7 separate regions of the Homo sapiens genome follow, and regions 1, 3, 4, 5, 6 and 7 are each linked to region 2. The links are contacts of gene promoters, found by promoter capture Hi-C in blood cells and fetal thymus (Javierre and others, 2016). All regions are on one chromosome and are shown on one strand. Each heading gives the region's core, a stretch centred on a gene start or on the middle of the fragment in contact. The rest is flanking DNA. Distances are from core to core; before and after follow the strand shown.

Region 1 (3,693 bases), core at 785-3,284, 400 kb before region 2:
CCCCGAACCTCCATACCCCATTCCCGAAGAGGGGGACCCTGGCCCTCCCGGGCTCTCTACACCCCACCAGGAAGATGGCAAGGCTTGGCACCTAGCGGAGACAGAGCACTGTGGTGCCACACCCTCTAACAGGGGCCCAAGGAACCAATTTATCACCCATGACTGACTGAGTCTGAGAAAAGGCAGAAGAAGGGGGGCACAAGGGCACCTTCTCCCTTGAGGCTGCCCTGCCCACGTGGGATTCACAGGGGCCTGAGTAGGGCCCGGGGAAGCAGAGCCCTAAGGGATTAAGGCTCAGACACCTCTGAGAGCAGGTGGGCACTGGCTGGGTACGGTGCCCTCCACAGGACTCTCCCTACTGCCTGAGCAAACCTGAGGCCTCCCGGCAGACCCACCCACCCCCTGGGGCTGCTCAGCCTCAGGCACGGACAGGGCACATGATACCAACTGCTGCCCACTACGGCACGCCGCACCGGAGCACGGCACCGAGGGAGCCGCCACACGGTCACCTGCAAGGACGTCACGGGCCCCTCTAAAGGATTCGTGGTGCTCATCCCCAAGCTTCAGAGACCCTTTGGGGTTCCACACTTCACGTGGACTGAGGTAGACCCTGCATGAAGATGAAATTATAGGGAGGACGCTCCTTCCCTCCCCTCCTAGAGGAGAGGAAAGGGAGTCATTAACAACTAGGGGGTTGGGTAGGATTCCTAGGTATGGGGAAGAGTTTTGGAAGGGGAGGAAAATGGCAAGTGTATTTATATTGTAACCACATGCAAATAAAAAGAATGGGACCTAGATAATTTATTTTCTTGGGATTTATACAGAAACACTATTCCATGGAGACAATCTCAAAGACAAAGGTCAAGACACTAAAATATAATCCCATAAAGATATTTCAGTGAGGAGCTGGTGAGTATAGTCCAGGTAATAACAGTCTCGTCAGTGATGGCTGACAACGTGCCAGGCAGTGTTCTCAATGCTTTACAGTACTAACTTACTTAATCTTCACAATAACTCCCTAAGGTAGATATGATTCCCATTTAACAAATGAGGAAACTGAGGCACAGAGCGGTAACTTTCCCAATTCAGCTGCAAATGACAAAGCTGGGATTTGCACCTAGTTCGTCTGGCTTTTAGAGGCCTCTTGGGGAAAAAAAAGCCTTCATATACCACGCCCTTCCAGAATTTCTTTGAACGGGTAGAATGGTCTGGCCTTCTCAAATAATCAGATCTCTTGCATGTTCCGCAGGTGTTACTTTTCAGTCAACTCTCAAACATCTAGCCACACGCGAAGTGAAAAATGTTCTCCAAGGTTGATTGAAGGGAAATGTGTGCAATTTTTTTTTTTTTTTTTGAGACAGGATCTAATTCTGTCACTCAGGCTGTTGTGCAGTGGCACTATTATGGCTCATGGCAACCTTGAACTCCTGGCTCAAGGGATCCGCCCACCTCAGCCTCCCAAGTAGCTGGGGCTATAGGTGTGTGCCACGACGCCCAGCTAATTTTTTGTATTTTTAGTAGAGATCAGGTCTCCCTGTGTTGCCCAGGCTGGTCTCGAACTCCTGGGCTCAAGCAATCCTCCTGCCTTGGCCTCTGAACATGCAGTGATTACAGGCGTGAGAGCCACCGTGCCTGACCTGAGGTGTGCACTTTAGACATAAAATGAGAGAGGCCAAGTTCACATTTTGTTGGTGAACAGAAATCTAGGCTGGCCTCCTTTTGGTTCAGAAAGAGTATTTATGATTTTTACTTTTTTGGTTTCTTTTTGTCTTCTTTTATTTTTACCCCCAAAAAGGACTTTAAATCTTCTCAAGCCCTCTTATTAGTAAATGTTTGCCCCTCCCTGCCCCTGAATTCTCTCCTGTGCTCGGTCGAGAGGATCTTAGCTTGCAGGATTGTTAGGGAGCTGCTGCCAGCCGGCTGCTCCTTCCATAAAAGGCCACTCTCATGGGTCTGATATGAGGAACTCTGTCGCTGGAGCTCATCAGGGTGGGGCGGCTGCAAAACACACACCTCAGAAGGCGTCTGATCCAATGGAGTGGATGGGTCATTTAAGGTTGACTGTGAAAATATCACATCCAACTTCCTTTTTTGAAAAGTAAATAATGGTGAGCTGTATCTTTAAATAAAGTTAAATCCTCCTGCCCCTGCAATATGCTGGGGCCAGACCTCATGAATTCTTAATAATTGTTCTAATGTGTTTAGATAAAAAACAAATTTTATACATTTTTTTCAACAAAATAAAAGGAGGAAAATATTTTGAAAGAAATGATGCTGAAGCACAGCCCTTTGTGACACCATTCAAATTTATAATTATACCTGCCTGTATTTTTTTAGAGACAGGGTCTTACTGTGTCGCCCTGGCTTGAGTGCAGTGGTATAATCGTGGCTCATATAGCCTCAGCTCCTAGACTCAAATGATCTTCCTACCTCAGCCTCCCACGTAGCTAGAGCTACAGATGCGTGCCACCACACCTGGCTAATTTTTTTTTAATTTCTTTTTTAAGAAGTGGGGTCTTGCTATGTTGTCCAGGCTGGTCTCAAACTCCTGGGATCAAGTGATCCTCCCACCTCAGCCTCCCAAAGAGCTGAGATTGCAGGCATGAGCCACTGCACCTGGGCTGCCTAAATTAATTTTCTAGGGCCGCCATAACAAAGTACTGCAGACTCGATAGCTTAAGCTGCAGAGATTTATCTTCTCACAGCTCTGGAGGCTGGAAGTCAGAGGTCAACGTGTTGGCAAGGTTGGTGTCCTCTGAGGCCTCTGTCCTTGGCCTGCTAATGGTGGCCTTCCTGCCACCTATGTCTTCACATGGTCTTGCCTTTGTGCATGAGTGTGTCCTAATCTTCTCTTAGTGGATTAGGGCCCATCCTGATGACCTCATTTTAACTTAGTCACCTCTTTAAAGCCCCTGTCTCCAAATAAGGCCCCATTCTGAGGTCCTGGGAGTTAGGGCTTCAGCACGTGGATTTTGGAGGGAGACACAGTTCCACCCACAGCATTACCCATGTCTATTTTGCCAGTGTGGAGTCAGTACAGGCTCCAGGACACATCCACAGAGCACAGGCCACGTAGAGGGGAGCTCCTGTCTACAAGGAAAAGCTGGCAGAAAACCAACAAAGACAGCCTCTTGATGGTGGTCTTCAAAAGATGCAACAGGATGCAATGGCAGTTGACAATGGGGTAACTGTTGGTTGTGAGAACCCTAATCCTCTACCACAGGGAGGAGAAAGCTAACACCAAGTCCAACCCACATCAACACGGGGGTGGGACACCCGTTAGGGGGCCAAGGCTGTAGTCCAGAAGAAAGGTGGATGGAACTGGGGACAGAGCAGTAGCACAGGGAGATGGGGGAGGATGGGGTAATTCAGAATTTCCCTTTTTGAGAGTGGCATCAACACAATGTCAAAGTAGGAGTTCTCCGGCTTCTCTCCTCCCCAACAGAATTTCAACTAGCAACAATCCTGTGGCAAGTTTACCACCCTGAATATCCCAGAACTTGGAGTGAAGCTTTGCATCCCCTGGGATGGCAGAGCCAAGAAAAACCATGAGGACGGTAAGGGGATGGCTGCTTTCTGACCACGCCACTCCTCCCCAAGCCCGCACAGTGCCACACGCAGAGGAGTCCCTGGATGCTCGGTTTCTCCAGTGGACACAGTGGATGGGAGGTGGGCGTTCGGCTTCCCCACCAG
Region 2 (3,589 bases), core at 866-3,365:
TCAAGCTATTTTCATAAAAAAATACAGGATGTTATTTTCCTTTGTCACTATGTTGACATTGCAATAATGTTGCAAAAACAATCTGGATAAAACTGCTGCCTTAGCATAAATGAAGGCAGTGGTGCCAAACCATATGATAGTCATTGCATTCTTCACTGCCAGGTACTTACAGTAAAAAAAGAAAAAAAATTAATGCCACTTTTACTTAAGAATGCCCTTAATGAGGCCGGGCGCAGTGGCTCGTGCCTGTAATCCCAGCACTTTGGGAGGCCGAAGCGGGCAGATCAGGATCACCTGAGGTCAGGAGTTCAAGACCAGCCTGGCCAACGAGTGAAACCCTGTCTCTACAAAAATACAAAAATTAGCCAGGCATGTTGGCGGGTGCCTGTAATCCCAGCTACTCGGGAGGCTGAGGCAGGAGAATGGCTTGAATCCAGGAGGCGGAGGTTGTAGTAAGCCGAAATCATGCTGCTGCACTTCAGCCTGGATGACAAAGCAAGACTCTGTCTCAAAAAAAAAAAAAAAAAAAAGAGAGATCAAGACCATCCTGGGCAACATGGTGAAACCCCATCTCTACTAAAGATACAAAAATTAGCTGGGCATTGTGGCGCATGCCTGTAGCCCCAGCTACTTGGGAGGCTGAGGCAGGAGAATTGCTTGAACCCGGGAGGCAGAGGTTGCAGTGAGCCAAGATCACGCCACTGCACTCTAGCCTGGGCAACAGAGTGAGACTCCCTCTCAAAAAAAAAAAAAAAAAAAAATATATATATATATATATATAGAATGCCTTTAATGAAGCAGTAAATACTAATTTTATTAAATCTCAACCCTTGAGTACGGTGTGTCATGAAATGAGAAGTAGCACACAGTACTATATGCTACAGATGAAGTACAATGCTGTCAAATAGGGGTACTTGTGTTAATTGTTGGAGTCGCAAGCTGAACTAGAGTTTTCTTTTCTTTTCTTTTCTTTTCTTCTTTTCAAGACAGGTTCTCACTCTGTCACTCAGGCTAGAGTGCAGTGGTGCAATCACGGTTCACTGCAGCCTCAACTTCCTGGGCTCAAGCGATCCCCCCACCTCGGCCTCCTAAAATGCTGGGATTATAGGCATGAGCCACCACTCCCAGCCCCACTTTTTTCAGACTGGAAAACGCACACTCACATGTGCATCTTTAAATGATCACTTGGGCTGTGGTATGGAGAATGGCGACCAGTGAGGAGGCAGGAGCTGTTGTCCGAGCAAGGGATGATATTGGCATCTTGGATTGGCATGGTGGCAGTAGTGGTAGTGCAGAGTGACTTGGGTAGATTTTGGAGCCATTTAGAAGGTAACATCCACAGGAACTGGTAAATAAATACGTGGGAGAAGTTGGGTGAAGGGGGTGTCAAAGATTACACCCAATTTATTTTGCTTGGGCAAGTTGGTGGATGGTGAGCCCCTCACTGAGTGAGAAGCCTGGAGAAGCAGGTTTGGAGGGTGGTAGTATGCAGGTGGTATGCATAGTTGGGGATGTGTGTTGAGTTTGCTATGTCCGGTGAGCTTCCCAGTGGAGATGTCCAATGGGCAGACGGATACTCACATAGAGAGTTCATGGTAGATTCGGGCTAGAGGAAAGCACCTGAGGCCTGGCCAGAGACGCCTAGAGGAACAGAGCCTGGTTAACAGTCACTCCTGGTGTCTCAGATATTCTCTGCTCAGCCCACGCCCTCTCTTCCACACTGGGCCACCTATAAAGCCTCCACAGATACCCCTGGGGCACCCACTGGACACATGCCCTCAGGGCCCCAGAGCAAGGAGCTGTTTGTGGGCTTACCACTGCTGTTCCCATATGCCCCCAACTGCCTCCCACTTCTTTCCCCACAGCCTGGTCAGACATGGCGCTACCACTAATGGAATCTTTCTTGCCATCTTTTTCTTGCCGCTTAACAGTGGCAGTGACAGTTTGACTCCTGATTTAAGCCTGATTCTGCTTAACTTTTTCCCTTGACTTTGGCATTTTCACTTTGACATGTTCCCTGAGAGCCTGGGGGGTGGGGAACCCAGCTCCAGCTGGTGACGTTTGGGGCCGGCCCAGGCCTAGGGTGTGGAGGAGCCTTGCCATCGGGCTTCCTGTCTCTCTTCATTTAAGCACGACTCTGCAGAAGGAACAAAGCACCCTCCCCACTGGGCTCCTGGTTGCAGAGCTCCAAGTCCTCACACAGATACGCCTGTTTGAGAAGCAGCGGGCAAGAAAGACGCAAGCCCAGAGGTAAGGTGGTCAGACTCGGCTTCCTTCCCCGGAGCTGAGAGGGAGGGGAACGTGGGGCAGATGCACAGGAATGTGCTCTGCCCAGTTGTCTGCCCACAGCTCTGGCCACCTTCTCTTGCATTTCTCTTGGAACTGGTCATGAGCAGCGATTTCCCACTGGAACTGTGAGCTTCCAGAGGTCAGAGACTGTGCTAGACTCCTCTCTGCAGCCCCAGCGTGCACAGCTCAGTGTCCAGAGCAATGGGTGCTCCTTAGAGGAGTAGTGACCTAAATAGCAAGATCAGAGAGGGAGTGAAGACTGGAGACTATCCCAGGCTGGGAAAGGCGTGGAAGGCAACTAGTCGTGGGCAGTTGAGGGGAGAAGACTGGAAGAGGGGAAAAGAGGAGAAAAAGAGTGAAGAAGGGGAGGGAAAAAATTAGAAAGAATAAATAAATATAAGGTGGGAGGAAACCTATAAAAAAGAAATGATGAGGAAAAACATAAAAACAAGAAAAAGAGCAAAAGAAGTGGAATCTAGTCTAGAGAAAATTCTTGCAAAACCAATTTTCCTTAACGGGACAATCTCCAAAAATTGACACCAAATATCATACTTGCAGCATTTCATAAGTCGCATGATCTATGTAATAGTCTCTTTTAACTACCTTTTGTGTTTCTGTGTGTATTTTTAAATTTTTGTCTGCTTCTTTGCTCTTTTAAGATTTTTGAACAATGTCTAAAGGCACTTCTACTCTAGTTAGCTTTAAAATGATTCATGAAATAGGAAAGCTAAAATTCTCAGAAAGTGTTGAAACTGAGCTTTTGCGTATGAATTGCCCTAAAAGTTGCAGATACATATCTTTAGATAAATATGTCATTTAAGAAACGGATTCGAAAAGAATTGGTGGTAGGGGTCTCATGAGGCCGGGAGAGTTACAGAAGGATGTGCAGCCCCTCCTGGGCCTGGCAGGGTGTGAGGGAGAGTGAGGACTCACTGTCCCTCCTGAAGGGAAGCCCTGTGCCATCTCAGCCTTTCCGCCCTCAGACCTTTCCAGCCCCTGAGACCTCATGGCCTTGAAGCCGTGCTATCCCCAGTGTCCTCTGCTTTCCCCTCATAGGCTTCTTCTGGGAGAGAGGTTTCCTGGGGTACGTTCTGATCCCTCAAAACGGAAAGGCCCTGTTCTCAATAATTCAAAGATTTCACTCTGAGTGGGATAGTGCTTCCTGAATGCCCTGCTCTTGTGGTGGACATTTTTATCGGGGCAAGGCTAAGAGCAGGGCCTGATGGGGGAAGTCACTGCTACTTCACATTTTGACCAATAATTCCTTGTGCTGTATCAGATGCTGTAGGCTGATACAAAA
Region 3 (3,357 bases), core at 63-2,562, 410 kb before region 2:
AGGGGTGTCAGTTCCCACCCTCAGGTCTGAGGCTCTGCCTGCCCAGTGAGCACCTCAGCACCCTGGACCACCCTTCCAGGCGCAGGCACCAGGGAAGGGGCAGAGGGACTAACCGACCTGTAGGGATTGAGGGTGCAGATGGTCACTGCGGGGAAGACGAGCTTGTCCGAGTTGAGGTTGATGTTGAGGCTGACGGGGTAGCTGAAGTACTCTCCGAAAAGCAGGCCGAATTGCCAGTACATCATGCCAAAGGTGCAGAGCCACAGCACTGCCCAGAAGGCCGTCTTCATGCGGTTGTGCTGGGAGCACACCAGGCGGATGGCGCCGTGGATGGTGGTGTTGTTGCAGAAGAACTCGAAGAGCTCTCGGTAGGAGCGGTGGAACTCGATCAGGGCCTCCTCCTCCGCCGTGGGCTGCTGGGGCGCCGCAGGTTCGGGGCCCAGCCCCTGCTCCTCACGCTTGTTCCCCTTCATGAGCCCTGGAGTGGACTGTGGAGGGCTAGAGTCCTGCTCCTCCAGCTTGTTCCCCTCCATGAGACCTGGTATGGGCTGCAGAGGTCTAGGGTCCTGCTCCTCCAGCTTGTTCCCCTTCATGAGCCCCGGAGTGGATTGGGGAGAGCAAGGGTCAGGGTCAAGGCTGAGCTCTGGGCCCTGAGTGCCCTCTCCCATCACCCCTGGAACCCGAGTGAGGCTGCCCCTGGCCATGCCCATGTCCCACCCTGCGCCCACATTCTCCCACTCCTCCCTCCCTCCTCCACCTTTCCTGGAGCCAGCAGACCTGCGGGAGTTGGGGCCAAAAGTGCCGGAGCTGGGCTTCCCTAGAACGGCCTCTCCTCTGCTTCCCTGATAGGGCCACCTTTCGAGTTTTGTCCTAGCACCTCCCTTTCTGTCTCTGCCCCCTTCCTTTGGTCTTCTTCCTCCAGGATCTGTGTCTCAGCTCCTGCCTCTCACTCCCTCTCTATCTGCCTTCTGTTTCTCTTTGGGTCTCTCCTGCTCTCCTCTTTCTGGCCTGCCTCCTCTCTCTAATCCTGCCTCTCTTCCTCTCCCCCCCTTGCCTTGCCCCCTCTCACTCTAGGCCCTCAGCTCCAGCCTCTGGCCCTGACCTCGAGCTGTGTCCTGATTCTGTCTCTGCCCCAGGACTGCAGGGCTCCAGGAGGTCTGGGCTGCCTCCAGCTTCCCACTCCCAGGTTGCGGCTGGACTGGGACTGGTTCCTTTCCAGTTGAATCTGGCAGCCAAACCTCTCCTCCCCCTCACCTGACAGGTGCAGCGGCCTGGCTGGGGAGCCCGCCCGCTGGCCGGCCAGGGATGGAAGCGACAGGAATCTCATTAGCATCTCAATTAAAGGTGAGCAGGGCGGGGGGAGGGGCTGAGGAGGAGTCAGAGCCGGGAGTTTTCCGAAGGAAGGAGGGCTCCCGAGGGCAGGTGAACTGGGAGTACTGGACCTGAGAAGGCGGACTCTGGGCAGGGGCTTTAGACGCAGACAGGCAAGGAGGCTGGGGGACAGGATGGCAGGTGAGGGGCAAAGATCTGAACAAGTAGAAGGATCCTGAGCCCACAGCTAGGAGGGCAACACAAGGAGAAGGGGCCAGCCAGGCTGAGAGGGCCTGGGTGGGGAACCGGGAGGACAGGAGGGCAGAAAGAGGGAGACAATAGAGAGGGACAGCGAAGGACAGAGAGATAGGGATGGAGGAGGGGCACTGAGTGAGTAGAGGCAGGTGGGGGGCAGTGGTGGGGGCAAATAGAAGGAGCCAGCACCAAAGGGAGTCTGTCTCCAGGAAGGAGAGCAAGGGGGGAGTCCCAAGTGTGCTTCCAGGAGCTAGAGGCTCAGCAAGTGGGCAGCCCTCCAAGGGCACCCACAGGTCAGCCTCACCCTCAGGCCCTGCAGAGAAGAGAGAAGAGGTCTCTGCAGGTCTCCTCCCCGCTCACTAAGTGGGAGCAGCGCACTCAGGTGGGATGCGTCTGCCTCCTCCTGGTCCCTCCTCTTTCCTGCTGATTCCTCGCCACCCCCTCCAACCTTGTCCAGACCCGGGAGGGGCCCAGGTGAAGCTGGGGGCTAGGCGGGGCCCTAGGACATTCTGTTCTTTTTTACACTGTTGGCTGCCAGGCCAGGAATGTGTAATCGCCCCTGCTGTGGTCACAGAGTTGCAGGAATGTGGGCAACCAGAGGCAGCGCGAGGGCCACGCAGGACACTGTGGACACAGACCCGGAGCCCAGGAAGAGGCAGGGAAAGCAGGCACTGAAGGTGCAGGGAGGATGTGGCCAGCGCTGGAAAGGAAGAGGGTGGGCATGGCACACGCCTAGACAGGCCCTGGGAGGAGGAGAAATTCGTTGATGGGCTATATTTTCTCCAAAATCTCTTTCCAAACTTAATGCAGCAAAAGGATAAGGAGTGGAGTGCCAAGTGGTGAGCAAGGAGAGAGAGGAGGGTCAGAGAATCAGACCCAAAAAGGGCTGGAGGAGACTCGGGAGAGCCACCCACACAACCCAGGCCCTGCACGCGGCAGGGAAGGCTGCCGCTTCCTCACGGGCCCCACAGGAGGCAGCCCAGAGTGCAGGAATGTGGTCACTGGCTTGTCCTGCCTCCCTCCACAAGCCAGCAGACAAAGGCCCAGCCTGAGCATTGATACACACCGGGGGAGGAGATAGGCCTGCAATACAATAAGATAAGGTTTCTATTTGTACACTTTAAAAGATTGTCTTTAAAACGGACTTCTAACAAAAGTGCAGATCTCAGATTTCTCAGAGATAAGACATAAGAGCCAAGGGCTAGGGGAGCCTAGGGGCTCACTGCAGGAGACTCAGGAAGCCTTCCCAGAGAAGGTGTCATCTCTGCTGAATCTTGACAAGCAAGGAGTTTAGCAGGCAAAGAAGAGAAAAGGCAGTACTCCAGGCTCAGGGTCCAACCTGGTCTGTGGCTTCCTCTCTTGCGGCAGTCTCTTGCGACTTCTTAAAGTGAAAGCCGGTGTCAACCAGGATTCCAAACCAGGTTCCCTTGCTTACCTTGATACTGCTCATGATACCTCCCCTTGGAAGGGACAGCTGGATTTTTCTTCATTGTCCTAATGAAGAAACTGACCCTTCCCAAGGATAAATCAGTTTTCTGAGGTTAGAAAACAAAATAGGAGCAGAGCTATAAACAGAATTCAGAATTCTCCTCCTCCTCTGGGGCTATCTACTTAGCGCTTTTGCCATTTACTTCCTGAGACAGACTCATGGGGGATCGGGGCTCAGGTGCACCTGGATGTGAAAGCCGGGAAGGCCTCCCTCACTCCCACACAGAGCCCGTGGATTCGTCTGCTCTCTGGGTGCTGGGTTATCTCCTTGGCTCTGTGAAAAGGTCTCTGCACTGTCCCCAC
Region 4 (3,563 bases), core at 1,064-3,563, 340 kb before region 2:
AAAGCCAATTTGAGAAAATGAGTATGTATGTAGCCTGTGTTTTTATTTTATAGTTCCAAAAAAAAAGGTTTTTTTTAAACTAAGAAGTATAATATCTGCAGTTGTGCTTATGAATGCTGTTATTATTTCTCCATCTTCGCTACAATTTCAGAAACTACGGCCAGTATACACTAGAATAGCAGGCTTTAAAGTGGCCCCTTTGAACAAATGTTCTCTAGCAAGACACTTTTTAGAACCAGGTAACTGTAACTATTAAACTACCTACTTGCAAAACGTGTTTGGTGTCACTGGGTCTCTTGGTACTGGGTTTTGTTTTGTTTAGTTTAGAGACAAGGTCTAGCTCTGTCACCCAGGCTGGAGTGCAGTGGTGCAATCATAGCTCCCCACAGCCTTGAACTCCTGGGCTCAAGCAATCTTCTAGTCTCAGCCTCTGAAAGTGCCAGGATTACAGGTGTGAGCTGTAGTGCCTGGTCCCGTAAAAACAAAAACAAAAACCAACACCAGATGTGGTGGCTCATGCCTATAATCCCAGCACTTGGGAGGCCAAGGCAGAAGGGTATTTGCATATTTTGTAGAGACTTGAGCCCAGGAGCTTGAGACCAGCTGGGCAACATAGTGAGACCTTGTCTCTAAAAAAATTGGCTGGTCATGGTAGTGCACCTGCAGTCCCAGCTACTTGGGAGGCTGAGATGGGAAGATCACTTGAGCCCAAGAGGTCCCCAAGAGGTCCAGGCTGCTCACATCACTGCACTCCAGCCTGGGTAACAGAGCAAAACCCTTTTTCACACACACACACACACACACACAAAAAGCCAGAGCAGTGGCTCACACTTGTAATCCCAGCACTTTAGGAGGCCAAGGCAGGCGGATCCCTTGAGCCCAGGAGTTTAAGAACACCCTGGGCAACATGGCAAAACCCTGTCTCTACTAAAAATACAAAAAGTTAGCCAGGCGTGGTGGCACGAACCTGTAGTCCCAGCTACTCAGAAGGCTGAAGTGAGAAGATCACTTGAGTCCAGGAAGTGGAGGCTGCAGTGAGCCGTGACTGTACCACTGCACTCCAGCTTGGGAGACAGAGTGAGCAGAGTGAGACCCTGTTTCCAAAAAAAAAAAGAAAACAAAAGCTTTTCCATTGCAAATCAACCAAAAAGGAACGTCTTTAATACACAAGAAATATTCTTCAGTCTACTTAACTTAAAAATGTAACTGTAATAGATGCTTTTCTCTTGACAGCGGCCCCGGCAGGGTTGGAACTTTTCCTAGTCAAAACCCCCCTACTCACTCTGCAGACCCTTCCTGAAGGTCTTCGCCCCATACTGAGCCCATCTTCAGTCCCTTCACTTGTTCCAAACTAGCCCAATCCATGACCCTTCTCTGGGAGCTCAGCCAATAGATCCCAAAGTACCACAGCAGCACCTGGCTGCAGAAGGACCCCCGGGAAATGCAGTCAGGGGTGAGAAGATGGGTGGGCTGAATGAGCTCGGCCCTCTCTGGGCCTTAGTGCTGGCATCTATGAGATGAGGACATGCCTGAAGTCAGCCTGGAATTTTGAGCCCAGGTTATACCTGGTAAATAGAACTCCCAGGTCTCCGGATACTCACCACTAAAACAATAGCACCTCATTGTTTTTGTTTTGTTTTGTTTTGTTTTTTAATTATACTTTAAGTTCTAGGGTACATGTACACAATGTGCAGGTTTGTTACATAGGTATACATGTGCCATGTTGGTGTGCTGCACCCATTAACTCATCATTTACATTAGGTATATCTCCTAATGCTATCCCTCCTCCCTCCCCACACCCCACGACAGGCCCCAGTGTGTGATGTTCCCCTTCCTGTGTCCAAGTGTTCTCATTGTTCAATTCCCACCTACGAGTGAGAACACATTGTTTTTAACCCTCCCCAGCAGCTTCTTTAACCCCTCCATTTCCCTTTTGGCGGAGACCCTTGTCATCACTCCTCTCTACCACCAGTGCTCTCCCCTCCTGCACTGTCCCAGGCTTCCTCATTCTTCCCTTGCAGGTCCTTATCCAACATGGCTCACAATTCCTGGGAAGCCACAAGGAAACCAAATTCTAGTAGCAACTCAGAGTCAGCATTCATTAGCAGGTCACAGGGCCATAAGGATGCCAAGAAGGAATTTGTCCCTCTCCTTGTCCTGACAAAAGGCATAAGTAGAAGAAAATTGTTAGGTTTGGTTATGACCTTTGACATTCTCTCTTTGACATCCTCCCTTTCTGCACCCCTCTTCCACCTGTCAGGGCACCTAGGGCTCCCCGGGTCCCCACAAGTGTCTGCCCTAAGGCCCACCAGGCTTTCTTGCAGCCTGTCCCACATCTGGGTGTCACTGCCTTCCTCTGAATCACCCTCCTCTCAAACCAGCCGCCAGCGAGCCCAGCCCAGCCCAGCTAGTGCCCTACCACACCCGCCCCCAGGATAATTAACACCCAGCCACCCAGCATCGGACCTCTACACTTGAGCAAAATGTATATTTTAAAGGCAAATTCTCACGCCTGTAATCCCAGCACTTTGGGAGGCCAAGGCGGGCGGATCACGAGGTCAGGAGATTGAGACCATCCTGGCTAACACGGTGAAACCCCGTCTCTACTAAAAATACAAAAAATTAGCCAGGTGTGGTGGCACACACCTGTAATCCCAGCTACTAGGGAGGCTGAGGCAGGAGAATCACTTGAACTCAGGAGGCGGAGGTTGCACTGAGCCGAGATCGTGCCACTGCACTCCAACCTGGGCGACAAAGCAAGACTCTGTCAAAAAACAAACAAACAAAATAAAGGCTAAGTAACTGTAATCAAGTAACTATTTATTATTTATTTATTTTAGTGTATCCACAGGTTGTGCAGCCATCAACACTATCTAATTCTATAACATTTTCGTTACCCCAGAGAAACTTGTACCCCTTAGCAATGACTCCCCATTTCTTCCCCCCAACCAACCCCAGCCCCAGCCCCAGCCCCTGGGAATCCCTAATATACTTTGTTTTGTTTTTTGTTGGTGGTGTTTGAGACAGGATCTCACTCTGTCACCCAGGCTGGAGCGCAGTATCATGATCTCAGCTCACTGTAACCTCCACCTCCCGGGCTCAAGCGATCCTCCCACCTCAGCCTCCCCAGTAGCTTGGGCCTACAGGTGTGCACCACCACACCCAGCTAATTTTTGTATTTTTTGTAGAGACGGGGTTTCACCATGTTGGCCAGGCTGGTCTCAAACTCCTGAGCTCAAGCAATCCACCCACCTCAACCTCCCAAAGTGCTGGGATTACAGGCGTAAGCCACTGCACCTGGCTATTTTCTTTCTTTCTTTTCTTTTTTTTTTTTTTTTGAGACGGAGTTTCACTCTGTTGCCCAGGCTGGAGTGCAGTGGCGTGATCTCGGCTCACTGCAACTTCCACCTCCCGGGTTCAAGCAATTCCCTGCCTCACCCGGCTATTTTATATTTGTTGATCTGCTGCTGGTTATGCCTGTGAGCCAAATTTGTACAAATTCTTAAGCTTTACAATCATGCGTGCCTCTCTGTACGTATATTATACTTTAATTAAAAGTTATT
Region 5 (3,448 bases), core at 353-2,852, 440 kb before region 2:
AGGGGTACAGGGCTGGAGCCAAGGCACTTCTGGGCAGCTTCATCAGCTACTGTTCTTGGAGCAACTTCCTGAGCCCTTACCCATCTTGCTTCCCCTCCACACATCAACGGCAGTTTGGGCGGCTCTGAGAGGAAGCCCTGCACATCCTTCAATCTTGCCAGGGCCAGCACCCTCCCACCAGAGGAGCATCTGCCTTGGTGTGAGAAACCTCTCCTTCCCTCTCAGGGCCCCCCCAGAGGACAGGTGGAGGAACTGGCCCCTGCAGAGCCCCCTGGAGATGGGCGGGGGCCCAGGGTGGCATAGGCAGGGGGAGGGGCTGTCAAGGCTGGAGAGGGAGCAGGGCCTGGCTGGGACAAGGACAGAGACATGGGGTGGGGGCAGAAGTGGGAAGGAGGGGAGGATGCCAGGGTGGAGGCTACCTCCTGAGCACCCCTGCCCCCTCGGCCTGGAGACCAGTATCGGCTTCGGAACCTTCGGAGCAGCATGAGGAACATGATGACCAGCAGGTCAAAGACGAGCTCAGCCATCTCCACCACAGACAACACCGAGGAGCCGAACCACAGGCTCCACTGGCTGCCCAGGTTGGACAGGAGGGTGACCATCTGTGAGAGGAGAGGTACATTGACGATGGGACAGAGGGTTCTGGATGGACTCTGGCAGAGGAGCCCCCTTCCCTCCTCACCAAGCTGTCTCCCTTCATCCCTGAAGACCCCCGAGTCCTCTCAGCCTCTCAGCAGCCCCCTGGGCTCTTTGTCTCTGCTCCTGGCCAGTGTCACCCAGAGAAAACTGATAACTGGCCCACAGTTAGGGGCAGCTGAAATGGGGGCATGGGTCAAGCGCCTTCACCCCAGCATCTAGCATGCCTGTCCCTCCCACCACCCCCAGAGACCTTATGCCCCGGCCGAGCTCCTTCTTCCAACCCTCCCAACCTCTCCCTTGACCCTCTTCTTTGGTCCCCTGCCTTTGAGACTCAGAGCCTTCTGGCCCACAGAGACAACCTTTTGGTTTTCCCCGACAGCCGCCCTGCTAAGTAAGACCCCCAGAGCATCACAGGCTCCATCCAGGCACGACCTACCGTGACAGAGGGAGACTCAGAATTGGTTTTGTAGTTCAGCTCCTTGAAGAAGATGTTGACTTTGGCCACTCCATTTCTTAGGTGTGGGGCAGAGGGTGGGAAGAAATGGTAGAGGATGAATTTCCTGGACCTTCCTCTAATCAACCATATCGATCCCTCTTCTTAGGTCTATTTTCCCTCCCAAAGATTCCCTTCTTGTGGCTGGGACCAGGGCAGGACTGACCTCTTGTTGTTGACGGTGTAATTGTTCTGTCGCGATAGCATCTGGAAGACCCATTCCTAGGAAAGAATGGGGGTGTCATCAAGGTCACTCCCATATGCTTCAGGCTTACAGGGATAGGGTTGTGTCAAACACACTCATACACATAATACCCAGAGAAGGCCACAGCATTACATGGGCACACACATCCCCCACCCATCCCTTCCCCACACTCTACCTGGGATGTCACCGAGGGCCATCGTGAGTAACCAGCAGAGAGCTGGTAGCTGGTCACGCTGGGGATGGAGAAAGGTGCTCAGTGTTGGGGCAGAGCTCTCCCAAATGCTTGGCTCGGTAACCTGTATTCTACCCAACCTGTACCCGGGGAAGGGGACACTAACCTGCATGGCTTCCGGCACTTGGTGAAACAGCCCAGGTGGTCTGAGGAGAAGTCAACCTGGAGCTTATAGTAGCAGTACCCTGTGGGTACAGAGAGATGCCTGTTCTCCTAGGGCACCTCAGCTTTCTCTACCCCACACCCAAGAGGTCTCCCAAGATCCCTGGGTACCCACTTTACAAGAGCATTATTTAGCATTATAATGATGCCTTATGAGTGGCAGTACCAAGAAGCGTTTAAGAAATTAAGCTAAGCCAGGGACAGTGGCTCAGCACTTTGGGAGGCCGAGGTGGGAGGGTCGTTTGAGGCCAGGAGTTCAAGGTTGCAAGTGAGCTATGAGTGTGCCTTTGTACTCCAACTCTGGCAACAGAGTGAGACCTTGTCTCTAAAAAAAAAAATTTTTAATAAATTAATTTTTTTTTTAGACGGAGTTTCGCTCTGTTGCCCACGCTAGAGTGCAGTGGCGCAATCTTGGCTCACTGCAAGCTCCGCCTCCCGGGTTCATACCATTCTCCTGCATCAGCCTCCGGAGTAGCTGGGACTACAGGCGCCCGCCACCACGCCCGGCTAATTTTTCGTATTTTTAGTAGAGATGGGGTTTCTCTGTGTTAGCCAAGATGGTCTCGATCTCCTGACCTCGTGATCTGCCCGCCTCGGCCTCCCAAAGTGCTGGGATTACAGGTGTGAGCGACCGCACCTGGCCTAAAAAATAAATTAATAAAGAAAGAAAATAAGCTAAGTCAGGCGAAAAACAAAACAGGATACACCAGTGTAAGGAAATATATGCTATGGACAAAAACATAAACGCCATAAAGAAAAATGGGAACAGGCCGGGCGTGGTGGCTCACGCCTGTAATCCCAGCACTTTGGGAGGCCGAGGCGGGTGGATCACGAGGTCAAGAGATCGAGACCATCCTGGCTAACACGGTGAAACCCCGTCTCTACTAAAAATACAAAAAATTAGCCGGGCGTGGTGGCGGGCGCCTGTAGTCCCAGCTACTCGGGAGGCTGAGGCAGGAGAATGGCGTGAACCCGGGAGGCGGAGCTTGCAGTGAGCCGAGATCGCGCCATTGCACACTCTAGCCTGGGCGACTGAGCGAGACTCCGTCTCAAAAAAAAAAAAAAAGAAAAGAAAAATGGGAACAATAATTGTATAAGAATAAGGGAATTAAGCCACAATAAGATACCACTTCACACCCATTAAGATGTGTGTTATTTAAAAAAAGACAATAGGCTGGGTGCGGTGGCTCACGCCTGTAATACCAACACTTTGGGAGGCTGAGGCAGGTGGATTACCTGAGGTCAGGAATTCGAGACCAGCCTGGCCAACATGGTGAAATCCAGTCTCTACTGAAAATACAAAAATTAGTCGGGTGTGGTGGTGCACACCTGTAATCCCAGCTACTTGGGAGGCTGAGGCAGGATAATTGCTTGAACCTAGGAGGTGGAGGTTGTAGTTTGCCAAGATCGTGCCACTGCACTCCAGCCTGGGCAACAGAGTGAGAGTCTTCTCAAAATAAATAATAAATAAATAAATAAATAAATAAATAAAAATTTAAAAAGACAATAACAAGAACTGGCAGGATGTGGAGAAACTGAAAACCTCTTATACTGCTGCTAGGGATGTACAATGGTGATGTCACTTCGGAAAACAGCCTGGCAGCTCCTCAAAAAAGGTTAAACATAGATTACCATATGACCTAGCAATTCCATTCCTAGGTATATACCCAAGAAAATGGAAAACATGCGTCCACACAAAAACTTGTACACAAATGCT
Region 6 (3,381 bases), core at 869-3,368, 370 kb before region 2:
TGAACCAGGGAGGCGGAGGTTGCAGTGAGTGGAGATCGTGCCACTGCACTCCAGCCTGAGCGACAGAGGCAAGACTCTGCTTCAAAAATATATATGTATTAGTCTGTAGTTGTATTTCCTTGTAATGTCTTTGTCTGGTTTTTGTAGTAGGGTAATGCTGGACCCATAGAATGATTTAGGATATTTCCTCTGTGTCTGTCTTCTGGAAGAGACTGTAGAAAATTGGTATAATTTATTCACTAAATGTTTGATAGAATTACCAGTGAACCCATCTGGGCATGATGCTTTTTGTCTTGGAAGGTTATTATTTATTGAATTTCTTTATAGATATAGGCCTATTCAGATTGTCAATTTCTTCTTGTGTGAGTTTTGGCAGATTGTATCCTAAAGGAATTGATCCATTTCATCTAGGTTATCAAATCTGTGGACACAAAGTTGGTCTTTATTCTCCTTTTTTTTGAGATGGAGTTTCGCTTTTGTTGCCCAAGCTGGAGTGCAATGGTGTGATTTCGTCTCACTGCAACCTCCGCCTCCCAGGTTCAAGGGATTCTCCTGCCTCAGCCTCCCGAGTAGCTGAGATTACAGGTGCGCACCAAGATGCCCGGCTAATTTTTTGTATTTTTAGTAGAAATGGGGTTTCAGCATGTTAGCCAGGCTGGTCTCAACTCCTGACTTCAAGTGATCGACCAGCCTCGGCCTCCCAAAGTGCTGGGATTACAGGCATGAGCCACCGTGCCCGGTCCTCTCCTTTTAATTTCTATGGGCTCTGTGGTGATGTCCCCTCTTTCACTTCTGACATTAGTAATTTCTGTCTTGATTTTTTTCTTGGTTAGTCTCACTAGAGGCTTACCAATTTTATTAAGCTTTTCAAAGAACCAGTTGTTGGTTTTGTTGATTTTCTCTACTCATTTCCTGTTCTCAATTTTATTGCTTTCTGTTCTAATCGTTATATTTCTTCTCTTCTGCTTGCTTTGGATTTAGTTTACTCTTTTTTTTCTAGTTTCTAAGGTAGTTGATTGTATAATAAATCTTTCTTCTTTCCTACTATAATGCATGCAATGCTATAAATTTCCCTCTAAGCACTACTTTCGCTGTATCCCACAAATTTTGATAAGTTGTGTTTTCATTTTCATTAGTTCAAAATATTTTAAAATTTCTCTTGCGATTTCTTCTTTGACCCACGGGTTGTTTGAATCACATTGTTTAATTTCTAAGTATTTTGAGATTTTTCAGCTATCTTTCTGTTATTGATTTCTACTTTAATTCATTGTAGTTTGAGAGCAGGCATTGCATAATTTCTACTCTTTTAAATTTGTTAAGGTGTGCTTTATGGTCCACAGTGTGGTCTATCTTGGTGAATGTTCCATGTGACTGTAAGAAGAATGCATTGCTGAGTGAAGCAGTCTACAGATGTTCATTATATCCAGTTATTTATGGTGTTGCTGATTTCAACTACATCCTTAATGATTTTCTGCCTGCTGGATCTGTCCATTTCTGGAAGAAGGATGTTGAAGTCTCCATCTCTAATAGTGGATTCATCATTTCTCCTTGCAATTGTAACAATTTTTGCCTCATGTATTTTTGATGCTCTGTTATTAGGTGCAACACAGCAAGGATTATGTCTTCTTGCAGAATTGACCCCCTTATCATTATGTAATGCCCCTCTTTCTGCCTGATAATTTTGCTTACTCTGAAGTTTGCTCCATCTGAAACTAATGCCCCTCTTTCTGCCTGATAATTTTGCTTACTCTGAAATTTGCTCCATCTGAAATTAATATAGCTACGCCCACTGTTGTTTTTTTTTCCTTTTTTTTTTTTTTCAAGATGGAGTCTTGCTCTGTCTCCCAGAGCTGGAGTGCAATGGCGCAATCTCAGCTCACTGCAACCTCTGCCTCCCGGATTCAAGTAATTCTCCTGCCTCAGCCTCCCAAGAAGCTGGGATTACAGGCACACGCCACCAGCCCTGGCTAATTTTTGTATTTTTAGCAGAGATGGGGTTTCACCATGTTGGGCAGGCTGGTCTCGAACTCCTGACCTCATGATCCACCCGCCTCAGCCTCCCAAAGTGTTGGGATTACAGATGTGAGCCACTGCACCCAGCCCCACTATGTTTTAATTAATGCTAACTATATCTTTCTCCATCCACTCACTTTTGGTCTGTATGTGCCTTTATATTTAAAATGGGTTTATTGTAGACAACATATAGTTGGGGCTTTTTAAAAATTCATTCTGACAGTCTCTGTCTTTTAATTGATGCATTCAGACCCCACTGACATTCGAGGTGATTATTGACATAGTTGGATTCATACCTATCATATTTGTTACTGTTTTCTCATTGTTGCTCTTGTTTGTTCCTACTTTTATCTTCCGCTCTTTTTCTGGCTTTTGTAATTTTAAGTGAGCATTTGTATTATTCCATTTTCTCTCCTTGCTCTTAGCATATCAGCTATACTTGTTTTTTTTCCATTTCTTTTATTTTAGTGATTGCTCTGGAGTTTACAATATACAGTTAAAACTAATCCAAGTCTGCTTTCAAATAACACCATACTACTTCACATGTAGTGCAAGTACCTTATAATAACAAAATAATCCTAATTACTTCCCCCATCCTTTGTATTACTACCATCATTCATTTTACTTATGTGTAACATATATATATATGACCAAATACACGATGCTATTATTATTTTGAACAAACTATTGCCTGTTAGATCAATTAAGATCAAGAAAGGCCGGGTGCAGTGGCTCACTCCTGTAATCCCAGCACTTTGGGAGGTCGAGGCGAGTGAATCATTTGAGGTCAGGAGTTAAAGACCAGCCTGGCCAACATGGTGAAACCCTGTCTCTACTAAAAATTAAAAAAAAAAAAAAAATTGGCCAGGCATGGTGGTTCACACCTGTAATCATAGCACTTTGGGAGGCCAAGGCAGGCAGACTGCCTGAGCTCAGGCATTCAAGACCAGCCTGGGCAACATGGCGAAACCCCGTCTTTACTAAAAATACAAAAAATTAGCTGGGTGTGGTGGTGCACACCTGTAATTCCAGCTACTTGGGAGGCTGAGAGGGGAGAATCACTTGAACCTGGGAGGCAGAGGTTGTGCTGAGCCAAGATCGTGCCACTGCACTCCAGCCTGGACAGCACAGAGAGACTCTGTCTCAAAAACATAAAAAATAAAAATAAAAATAAAATTAGAGAGTCCAGAAAATTAAAACGAGAGAGTCCAGAAAATTCTCACAGCACTAAAGTCTTATAGGGAAATCAGTTCTTTCCTTCATCCTTCTAAGAGATTCACTCATAGGTTCACTAAGCACCTGCTGGCATCAGGTGCCATGCTAGGGACAGGAATGTCTGCGACATGATTCCTACCTTCAAGAAGCTTG
Region 7 (3,609 bases), core at 216-2,715, 460 kb before region 2:
ATACCTGTGGCACCTTGAGCAAGTCACTTCACCTCTCTAGGTCTAGGTTTCTTGTCTGTAAAATGGGCTAACATTCATGTTCTCCACACCACAGGGCAATGATGTGTATCAAATGACCACATGTGCAAAAGTGCTTTGAAAATTTTTTCTCAGGTGGCGCTATTTCCTTTTGATGGTACCTGTATGAAATCGCTGAGGGAGGGAGAAGGCAGATAATATAATGCGTCCTCTCCTCAGCCTTCTAGGAACTTTCCTCCCTCTGAAGGACAGCAGAGTCCTCAGCCTGGGACAAAGCCCACCTCTGCCCACGTTCTGCCCTCCTGCTCCTCCCAGCTTCAGGGCAGAGGCCCAGGTGGTAGGAGAGGGATGCTCTTGAAGGAGCAACCAGTACCAATTCAGAACACTTATTCTACCATCACCACCAACCAGGGAGGGCTTCCTGAAGGAGGGGGAAGACCTGATAACAGGTCTGCCAATGGGACATGAGAAGCAGGAAGACCTGTACAGGTAGGAAAAGGGCCATTCTGTTCACCCCACTCACCCCCAACACTAGCTCCAGAGTTTGGTGCCACCAAATCCCGGCACCACCCCACTTTCTTATGGTAAGAAGTACCCCCTCAGACAGTTACTTAACCTTAGAGTCTCCATGTCTCAGTAGTAAGGTGGGGTAAAAATATCTGGTTCATGGGGTTTTTGTAAAGATTAAATAAGGTAATGTAGGCCGGGCACGGTGGCTTACACGTCTAATTCCAGCACTTTGGGAGGCCAAGGGGGGTGGATCACAAGGTCAGGAGTTTGAGACCAGCCTGGCCAAGATGGTGAAACCCCATCTCTACTAAAAATACAAAAATTAGCCGGGCACGTTGGCGGGCGCCTGTAATCCCAGCTACTAAGGAGGCTGAGGCAGGAGAATCGCTTGAACCCAGGAGGTGGAGGTTGCAGTGAGCCAAGATTGTGGCACTGCACTCTAGTCTGGGTGACAGAGCAAGACTCAGTCTCAAAAAATAATAATAATAATAAAATAAAATAAGGTAATATATGTAACGCACTTAGCAGGGTGCCTGGCAAACAGCAAGTGCTCAATAAATGAGAGCTCTTAATAACGAAAGTGTCCTGTCCCAGGCCGCCCTACAGAAGCTGAAGGCAGAGGAGTATGTTCAACAGAAGAGGGAGCTCCTGACCCTCTATCGGGACCAGGACAGGGAGTCCCCCAGCACCAGGCCCTCCACGCCTTCCCTGGAGGGCTCTCAGAGCAGCGCAGAGGGGAGGTAAGGCTCACACGGACTACAAGGTCTCCCCGAGCAGGAGGAGGGAGCCATAAGGCTGAGAAATGGCATTACTGCACATTTTTGGTGGAATTGGGAATAGATAGAGGAACGCAGGCGTAGGGCAGGGTAGGGAAGCTCGGTACCAGCTGTGTTGGGTCGGAAGGTTGGTACCAGCCGTGTTGGGTTGGAGGTGGGGGATAGGGCACAGACAGCCTACAGAGTTAGCCTGCCTAGAGTCACACAGGAGCACTGTGAGAGGAGCAAGCTCGAGAGTGAAGGTAGGTGTGGATCTGCAGAATATTAGAGCTGCCAAATCCCCGGGGAGTGTGAGGTTCGTCTAGGATAGCACCACTGCTTGGCAGCAGCTTAAGGAGAAAAGAAGAATCGATCATTGAGGATAATATCAGGTAAGTTCAGGAACCACTCAGCAAAAACCTGACTACCCACTCGATACAAGATCCTGGACCAGATGCTATGGATAAAACAGTATAGAGGCAGCCCGTACTCTCTTAGGAGCTTAAAATCTAGCCAGCCAGATGAGAAAAACAATCACAGTGCGATGGAAAGATGATACCAAAATAAGTTTGGAGGAGGGGCCATTTCTGGATGTAGTGATCAAGGGAAACTCCCTGGACTTGAACTTGACCCCTACGCATCTGACTCTTTGCCATTAACTGTAGGACTCCTGAGTTCTCGACCATTATCCCCCACCTGGTGGTGACAGAAGACACAGATGAAGATGCTCCCCTTGTGCCAGATGATACCTCAGACTCTGGCTACGGCACTTTGATCCCAGGCACCCCCACGGGGTCCCGCTCCCCACTGAGCCGTCTACGCCAAAGAGCCCTTCGGCGGGACCCTCGCCTCACCTTCTCCACCCTGGAACTCCGGGACATCCCTCTGCGTCCCCACCCTCCCGACCCCCAAGCTCCTCAACGCCGAAGCGCCCCCGAACTGCCGGAAGGAATCCTAAAAGGAGGCAGTCTTCCCCAGGAAGACCCACCAACCTGGTCTGAGGAAGAAGATGGGGCCTCCGAGCGAGGGAATGTGGTGGTGGAAACACTCCACAGGGCCCGGCTTCGGGGCCAGCTTCCCTCCTCCCCAACCCATGCTGACTCTGCCGGGGAAAGCCCCTGGGAGTCCTCAGGGGAGGAGGAAGAAGAGGGGCCTCTGTTCCTGAAAGCTGGCCACACATCCCTGCGCCCAATGCGGGCTGAGGACATGCTCAGAGAGATCCGGGAGGAGCTGGCCAGCCAAAGGATTGAGGGGGCCGAGGAGCCCCGGGACAGCAGGCCACGGAAGCTGACTCGGGCCCAGCTGCAGAGGATGCGGGGGCCCCACATCATTCAGCTGGACACCCCTCTGTCCGCATCGTAAGTGCTGGAGGGAAGCTGGCCTGGGAGGGGGCAGACGGGGATGTCTGTATGGTGGTGGGGTGTAGTATAGAAAGAGGGCAAAGCAGGAACAGGGGCTGAGGCAGGAAGGGCTCTCCGCCTCACTCTTCACCTGACCCTCACCCGTTGCCACTGAATGTCGCCTAACACCCCCTCCTGTCTTTTCAGAGAGGTATGAGGAATGCAGAGGACCTTTGGCATGCATCTCTCCCAGAGGAGATCTCTCCCCAGTAGTGCTGGTCACCCTCCGGCATCTGTGACTCTACCTCAAGGACCACATTTCCCAAAGGAAGCCTGGCCCAGGCACCCTGCCTCCTGCTCTGTTTGGGGATCAAGAACTGTAAATTTATGTATCATAGGTGCACCTGAGCCCCACAGAAAGTTGTGCATAAAAATGACTGCCCTGGCTGGGCATGGCTGCCTGTAATCCCAGCACTTTGGGAGGCTGAGGTGGGAGGATCCCTTGAGCCCAGGAGTTCCAGACCAGCCTGGGCAATATAGGGAAACCCTGTCTTTACAAAAAAAAATTTTAAAAATTACCCAGGTGTGGTGGTGTGCCTGTGTCCGGAGGCTGAGGCGGGAGGACCCCATGAGCCCAAGGGTTGGAGGCTGCAGTGAGCGCACTCCAGCTTGGGCAACAGATGACGGTGTTCAGAACAAGAACCTGCTACTCCTCTGTCACTTGGCGTGATGGTGATGGGCTACCTGGCCCTAGTGCAGGGCTTTTCCCATCTCACCCCTCAGGATCTGGGCCTCTGCCCCCACCTCCCATCCCGACAGACCACTGTCTCCAAGAGCAGAGCTTTAACTTCAGAATTTTAGTGTATGTACAAAAGTCCACAGCTCCAGCTGAAGGCCCCATTGTTCCGTGCTCGCCCCTGCCTTAGGACAGTTCAGCTTGCTATGTGCTTGTCCAGGCAGAGGGCACAGGAGTGCCAAGTTTCTAT

What was found. Contacts are between HindIII fragments. The CHiCAGO score rates a contact against its expected background, and 5 or more counts as called.
Region 1: a contact is called between a fragment that was not itself captured here and the fragment with the promoter of CD4 in region 2, in 1 of 17 cell types (total CD8 T cells). The highest score is 5.8, in total CD8 T cells.
Region 3: a contact is called between the fragment with the promoter of SCNN1A here and the fragment with the promoter of CD4 in region 2, in 1 of 17 cell types (naive CD8 T cells). The highest score is 7.2, in naive CD8 T cells.
Region 4: a fragment that was not itself captured here is called in contact with the fragment with the promoter of CD4 in region 2 in 3 of 17 cell types (activated CD4 T cells, non-activated CD4 T cells and naive CD4 T cells); the score reaches 6.7 in activated CD4 T cells.
Region 5: a fragment that was not itself captured here is called in contact with the fragment with the promoter of CD4 in region 2 in 2 of 17 cell types (activated CD4 T cells and naive B cells); the score reaches 6.8 in activated CD4 T cells.
Region 6: a contact is called between a fragment that was not itself captured here and the fragment with the promoter of CD4 in region 2, in 1 of 17 cell types (total B cells). The highest score is 6.2, in total B cells.
Region 7: a fragment that was not itself captured here is called in contact with the fragment with the promoter of CD4 in region 2 in 2 of 17 cell types (non-activated CD4 T cells and total CD4 T cells); the score reaches 5.7 in non-activated CD4 T cells.

Annotation. Positions count from the first base shown.
Region 1 is chr12:6,390,772-6,394,464 of GRCh38, forward strand. It overlaps LTBR (lymphotoxin beta receptor), which reads left to right. Exons shown (of 10, transcript NM_002342.3): 10 at 1-795. The coding sequence ends at 166. Among named protein-coding and RNA genes, the nearest start is that of LTBR, 8.5 kb to the left of the region's middle. RefSeq lists an enhancer at 1-702. The HindIII fragment of the contact is 2,950 bases long and covers 560-3,509 here.
Region 2 is chr12:6,787,413-6,791,001 of GRCh38, forward strand. It overlaps CD4 (CD4 molecule), which reads left to right and starts at 2,116. Exons shown (of 10, transcript NM_000616.5): 1 at 2,116-2,250. RefSeq lists enhancers at 1,600-2,157, 1,973-2,022. The HindIII fragment of the contact is 6,468 bases long and covers 1-3,589 here.
Region 3 is chr12:6,374,251-6,377,607 of GRCh38, forward strand. It overlaps SCNN1A (sodium channel epithelial 1 subunit alpha), which reads right to left and starts at 1,313. Exons shown (of 13, transcript NM_001038.6): 1 at 1,255-1,313; 2 at 118-587. The coding sequence starts at 533. It also overlaps a transcript of LTBR not described here. RefSeq lists enhancers at 1-324, 2,141-2,745. The HindIII fragment of the contact is 18,398 bases long and covers 1-3,357 here.
Region 4 is chr12:6,445,994-6,449,556 of GRCh38, forward strand. All of the region lies in intron 2 of CD27 (CD27 molecule), which reads left to right. It overlaps CD27-AS1 (CD27 antisense RNA 1), which reads right to left. Exons shown (of 6, transcript NR_015382.2): 2 at 2,647-2,744; 3 at 2,044-2,157; 4 at 968-1,094. Among named protein-coding and RNA genes, the nearest start is that of CD27, 2.8 kb to the left of the region's middle. RefSeq lists an enhancer at 123-242. The HindIII fragment of the contact is 2,383 bases long and covers 1,123-3,505 here.
Region 5 is chr12:6,347,652-6,351,099 of GRCh38, forward strand. SCNN1A (sodium channel epithelial 1 subunit alpha) reads right to left here. Exons shown (of 13, transcript NM_001038.6): 9 at 1,676-1,754; 10 at 1,513-1,570; 11 at 1,299-1,354; 12 at 1,076-1,151; 13 at 1-602. The coding sequence ends at 222. LOC107984500 (a long non-coding RNA gene) reads left to right here and starts at 530. Exons shown (of 4, transcript XR_007063191.1): 1 at 530-616. The HindIII fragment of the contact is 4,954 bases long and covers 1-3,448 here.
Region 6 is chr12:6,413,221-6,416,601 of GRCh38, forward strand. No RefSeq gene overlaps it. Among named protein-coding and RNA genes, the nearest start is that of CD27, 30 kb to the right of the region's middle. The HindIII fragment of the contact is 2,514 bases long and covers 862-3,375 here.
Region 7 is chr12:6,325,306-6,328,914 of GRCh38, forward strand. PLEKHG6 (pleckstrin homology and RhoGEF domain containing G6) reads left to right here. Exons shown (of 16, transcript NM_001384598.1): 14 at 1,123-1,268; 15 at 1,949-2,641; 16 at 2,831-3,201. The coding sequence ends at 2,840. It overlaps TNFRSF1A (TNF receptor superfamily member 1A), which reads right to left. Exons shown (of 10, transcript NM_001065.4): 10 at 3,466-3,609. Among named protein-coding and RNA genes, the nearest start is that of TNFRSF1A, 15 kb to the right of the region's middle. The HindIII fragment of the contact is 6,493 bases long and covers 1-3,609 here.